2 separate regions of the Homo sapiens genome follow, and region 2 is linked to region 1. The links are contacts of gene promoters, found by promoter capture Hi-C in human tissues and cell types (Jung and others, 2019). All regions are on one chromosome and are shown on one strand. The core of a region is centred on a gene start or on the middle of the fragment in contact, and the rest is flanking DNA. Distances in the headings are between cores, read along the strand shown. Region 1 holds the start of SLC5A8 (solute carrier family 5 member 8). Region 2 overlaps ANO4 (anoctamin 4).

Region 1 (2,671 bases), core at 110-2,609:
TTATTTTTGAGGAATAGGCACAAAAGGTTGGGTAAGTCACCCAAGGTCACCCAGCTAGTAAGTGGTAGAATCTGGTCCGAAATACAGGTACTGGTACACCTTAGCCACTTGGGTGCCTGTTTCAGTGGAAAGGGGGTGGGTGTGGAAGGGGAAGGAAGGGGAGTACAAATTCTTTACCAACTATCTTGGAAGAGTGAATGGGGCTGAGGACCTGGAACAAGAGTATTCCTTTCAAGAAGCAGGGCCTGAGACCTGAAGAACTTACCTTCCCCAAAAATCTTTCCCCTTGCCTGGGAATCAAAGATGCTAAAGGTAGAAAGGACCATAGCGAGCACTACTGTTGCAATCCGTTCACTTTGGAAGCCTCTTTTTTTCACTAAGCCCAGGAGAGTAAATCCCAAGAATTTTTTCACCCTTAGAGGACGCCTCTCAGTAGAAGGGAAAGATGCCAGGTGAAGATCGGGGGACGGGGAGGAGTGAAGGGAGGGTGATGATGACGATGGACGGGGAGAGATTTCGATGTGGCAGTGACAGTCTGCCCCCAAGAAAACGCCTCCAGAGGTCTGCAGAGTCCCCTTCCCCCGCGCCCTGCATGGTCCCAGCCCACCCTGCCCCTTACCTCGTAGGTGCTGGTAATTCCCAGTTTGTAGAACACCGGGAGGAAGACCTCCGCGCTGATGACCACCACAAAGAAGTAGGTGAAGGCAAAGATGCTAAAAATGGCCCCAAAACGGTAGACCTCGGAGGGGGTGCCCAGGACAGTGACGGCTGACATGAAGCTAGCGGTGAGGGACAGCGCCACGGGCACTGCGGTCATTCTGCGGCCGCCCATCAGGAAGTCCTTGGAGGTCTGCTGGCCGCCCCCAGCGAAGGCGTAGTAGATGCCGATGGCGGCCGAGATGACCAGCATGCCCGCGAACACCACGTAGTCCCACACCACGAAGGTGCCGATGCCCCGTGGCGTGTCCATGGCCGCACGGTCGCCTGAGCCCTGCGCGCAAACTGGTGGCCCCGCGGCGCGCAGCCGGAGCCCGGCGCGCACTTCTTATCCCGGATCCCTGGCGCGCAGGCGTGGCGTCCCGCGGGGACTGGAGGCGTCCTCCAGGTGTCGGCCTCCGAACGCACCCCGAGGCGGGGTGAGGGCTGGCAGTCGCCCCTGCACCCGCCGCTGCGAGCCGCGCCCCTCAAACCCAGGTATGGGACCTCGGAAAATCGACCCGCTGCCCTGAGTGCTCACCACGTGAGGAACTGGAGTGGCCGAGTTCGCCAAGGCGCCGGGGACACCTGAGCAGATGAGAACTGGAGCCTCCAGCTGCTTCCAGCGAATCTACACAGGGAGCGCTCTGGGCAGGTTTTGTTCAAGTGGTACCCGAGGGGACGCACCATTTAAATAAGCAGGCGACCGGTGGAGGAATGTGGGACAAAGGGCAATTGTCACGCCTTGAATTTTAGCTTTCCAGTTCAACAGTCCGGGTCCTTACGGAAAGGGACGCCTGGAGTTTTTAGACTGCCTTATTTGATAGGTTAATGGGTGACAGTAGATTAATGCAGGTGACAATCTGTAGTGAACAGAGATCACAGTCCTTAGACAGGTCATCGATCGTAAAGGAGAGCAGGAAATCTGTGCTACTGTTTCCTTGTGTTTTTACTCAACAAACGTTTCTGAGCCCCTTCAGCCTGTTGTTGGAAATAGTAGTTATTGGAAGATTAACAATAATATCCGCTTTTTAATGAGCCTTCATGTGACACATACATGCTTGGCACGTTTTATATTAGTCAGTGTAATTCTTTTGGTGAACCAGTGTAATTCTCATTACCCTTGAGATAGGCATTTTCAAATGCAGAAATTACTGTCGAATGATTAAGTCACTTGCCCAATCAACTGGCAGAGATTAAGATCTTTAATCTAGGTCTGATTTCAGAGTTTGCTCTCTTAATCACAATGTGTAGATACGTGTTATAGGTAGGCAAAATGTGTACACTTAAATGAAGACACTTGAAAACACTGAAGAAAAGATCATTTCCAGCATCACCACTCAGGACATATTTTAAGTGGCTTGTCTTGAAATACTATTAACACATGAATCACACTCAAATAATATGATTCTCAGGTTTTCCTTCTAAAATAGACGCTCCAGCCAAATGTGCTCAGCTATCAATCCATTTCAGGCAGTCCTTGTTCATTTGTATACAACTTTATAATATACCATCTGGTCCTAGGTAAACAATCCACAGAATGCATTTAGTCTAGCCTAGTGTATGATAAAAAAGCTATATCAGATTTTATTTTTTGTAAACTGATGTTATTTGTATAATATTTTCAGAAGGAAATAAAGAGGGAAATAGAAACTAAATCCAAGTAATTCAATTGGTTAAACAAATATGTGGTTTGGAATTACGTCCTACCAGTGTGAAATGTACTATATTTATATATTACATATGATGTTATACATACTTATATATAATACATAAATTATATGTGTATATTATATAACTTATATATATATATAAAGCAACCTGTTAGAGTAACACACAAAAGAATCCACCTTGATCCTTCTGGGAATTGGATTCACTTCTGGGAACTTCTTTAAAGCCAACAGCCCTAGATATGGGAAAATGCTATCTAAACAAAATTCATCTTCTTTTGGACACCTAGAGTTAAGAACAGAAC
Region 2 (2,671 bases), core at 88-2,587, 82 kb before region 1:
ATACATTCTTCTGGCTCTCCTTTGAATTAATTATCTGACCATTCTTTTCCCACCTTCCTTCCAGACTCCTCTTTCTATTCCTTAGGTGGTGCCATCAGACCAGTTCAGGCCTCACCTGTCCTATCATCTTGCATTACACACGCCTCCCCTGGTCACTTTGCACTCTCCACATACCCCAGAGGGTCCACATCCTTCTTCAGCCAACTCTCTAACCTCATTCAGGATGCACAGTAGACCTGACGCTGTTACATTCTCCTCTGTTTTAGCACCTCGTGTTTTGTATAAAGCACCTCATTTCATATCTGATCCCAGACCTCCCAAAAGACCTAAGGGATCGAATGAGAAGAGAGAAGTACTTGATTCAGGAGATGATGTATGAAGCAGAACTGGAACGTCTCCAGAAGGAACGAAAGGAGAGGAAGAAGAATGGAAAAGCACACCACAACGAGTGGCCGTGACCATGTAGGTGAGAGGTGTGCTCAGCGTCTGAGGCCATTCCGAGGTTGAATGGGTGCTTTAAACTCCCTGAAGCAAAGCTTACCATTGTTGCAGTAACAGGGATCAAAATAAACTCCTTAGAAGCTTCCCAATCCAAAAGAAGCTTGTTTTTTACTTTAATCGTTGCAAATTTTGCTTGATCTTCCCCTCCCACATACCTTCTGCAACACTTCTCTGCCTTCTTGCCAGACTCTGGCCTATCAGTCAAGGTCTTCATGAATTGGCCTAGGAGTTCCCTGAAACAAAGCGTCCTCTCTCTTTTCCTCCAGCCGGGCTGTTTTCTTTAATATCCCCAGGGAAACATGCCCCTTCTTTCTAGGTGGGTGGGAGGCAGACATTAGCAAAGAGAATTCTTCCTGAAAGCCTCAGCGGCCAGAGACCAAGGTGCAACAGGGCTGTCCTGGGCTGCAGGACCAGTAACTGATGAAGAATTTCTTCTGGCCCCACCACTACTGGCTGCTTTCTTCCCAAAAAGGCCATTTCTAATTTTTGCTTGAAAGCATAGTATCTGCCTGCCTGTTTCTATTTCCCCAATAGTTGGCAGGATGTGATGTTGCTTTAGACTGCCCTTCTGACTCAGTCTGTTCACCCATAAAGCAAGCATAAAAATGTTTATACCATCCCTGACTCCATTTGGGGTTACAAATTCTTTGAATGCCTTTGGTGCATGGTAAGTACAAACTATTGCACCTCATGTTTTAAAGCAATTGTGTATGCATAAGATCTTTATGCCTTCTTTTCTCTTTCCAGAAAATAGTCCCTTTCCAGGCCAAGGACCTGAATTCTGTTTACTTCTTCTGGCTGTGCAAAAGCACACTCAAGTGAATGACTAAAAATGCAACCACAGTGCATGTTGCAGATACCGGCGGCCGCAGGAGGGGCAGCATCCAGTAGAGGACTGGCGTTGGAGTCACACTGCTGTGAAATCACGTTGCAGTCCAGCGCACAATTGCTATCTATCCATAGACCATTCTTGACCAAGCAAGCATGCACATTATGGGCAGTTACATTCTCAAGTTTTTAAAATCAAGGGGAACTTGTATACTGGGCCTGTTTTTCAGCCTGTTTGCTACCTTTTTTGCATTCTATCCCATGTGAATTTTACAGACACTGGGCTAAAAAGGGTATTCAGACACATGGACACACATTCCTAGAATGTCATCATATGGTCCTAATTCCATGTCACCAACAACACAGACAAGACCCTGTTTACAACTTTTTCTTTCCTTTTTTTTAATTTTAGACCTTTCTGAGAAGATTATTATATATGACATATCTATAGCTATGTGTATGGCCATAGATGTATTTCTGTGTGTACATATGTATAGTCATGTATTCCTGCATATGTACATACAAATACAGAGATATATAAAGTACATAGAAATTCCTTACTTGTAAATAGCCAAAAAGTACTGACATGAGTGAATTTTCACATTTAAATAGTCATCAATATGAAGCCATGATTAATGCTTGTATAATGTGATGCAATAAAATTTAAAATAAATTTCTGCACATGGAATATTTTCAGCTGGCTCTTCTGACATTCTGTTGTATTTTTGTCTCATAGAATAAGAGAAATCACAGAATAAGTAAGTGGAATCTTTAATGTGAGGAGAATATCTGAGGGACTGTGCAAGAAATCAGATGTTTGTTTATTGCATAAATGCATGCAAAAACAAACAATATAGCCAAATATCAGCGTATGTTTCTGATGAACTTTTTTCCCCAGTCTTGATGGTGGAATATTTTAAATATAAGCCAAAATGAATATGCCGTAATTTGAGGATTTGATAATCTACCCAATTTTATAAGTCCTCATAAGACTAGAATATTAGAAATATCCTACTTCAACACTATAATCTTCATTAAAACCTCAGTTGTCTGCAATTAACAATTGCAAAAATACAGAACCAACCTAAGTGCCCATCAACCAAGGAGTGGATAAAGAAAATGTAGTATATAGCCGGGCACGGTGGCTCACGCCTATAATTCCAGCACTTTGGGAGGCCGAGGCGGGTGGATCACGAAGTCAGGAGATTGAGACGATCCTGGCTAACACGGTGAAACCCTGTCTCTACTAAAAATACAAAAAAATTAGCTGGGCGTGGTGGTGGGTGCCTGTAGTCCCAGCTACTAGGGAGGCTGAGTCAGGAGAATGGCATGAACCCGGGTG

What was found. The method cuts DNA at HindIII sites, captures the fragments that hold promoters and counts their contacts. A contact is called where the count stands out against the background at its distance.
Region 2: a contact is called between a fragment that was not itself captured here and the fragment with the promoter of SLC5A8 in region 1, in 2 of the 25 tissues and cell types used here (aorta and mesenchymal stem cells).

Annotation. Positions count from the first base shown.
Region 1 is chr12:101,208,879-101,211,549 of GRCh38, forward strand. SLC5A8 (solute carrier family 5 member 8) reads right to left here and starts at 1,360. Exons shown (of 15, transcript NM_145913.5): 1 at 620-1,360. The coding sequence starts at 970. The HindIII fragment of the contact is 10,158 bases long and covers 1-2,671 here.
Region 2 is chr12:101,126,613-101,129,283 of GRCh38, forward strand. ANO4 (anoctamin 4) reads left to right here. Exons shown (of 28, transcript NM_001286615.2): 27 at 267-462; 28 at 1,249-2,017. The coding sequence ends at 458. Among named protein-coding and RNA genes, the nearest start is that of SLC5A8, 82 kb to the right of the region's middle. The HindIII fragment of the contact is 4,776 bases long and covers 1-2,671 here.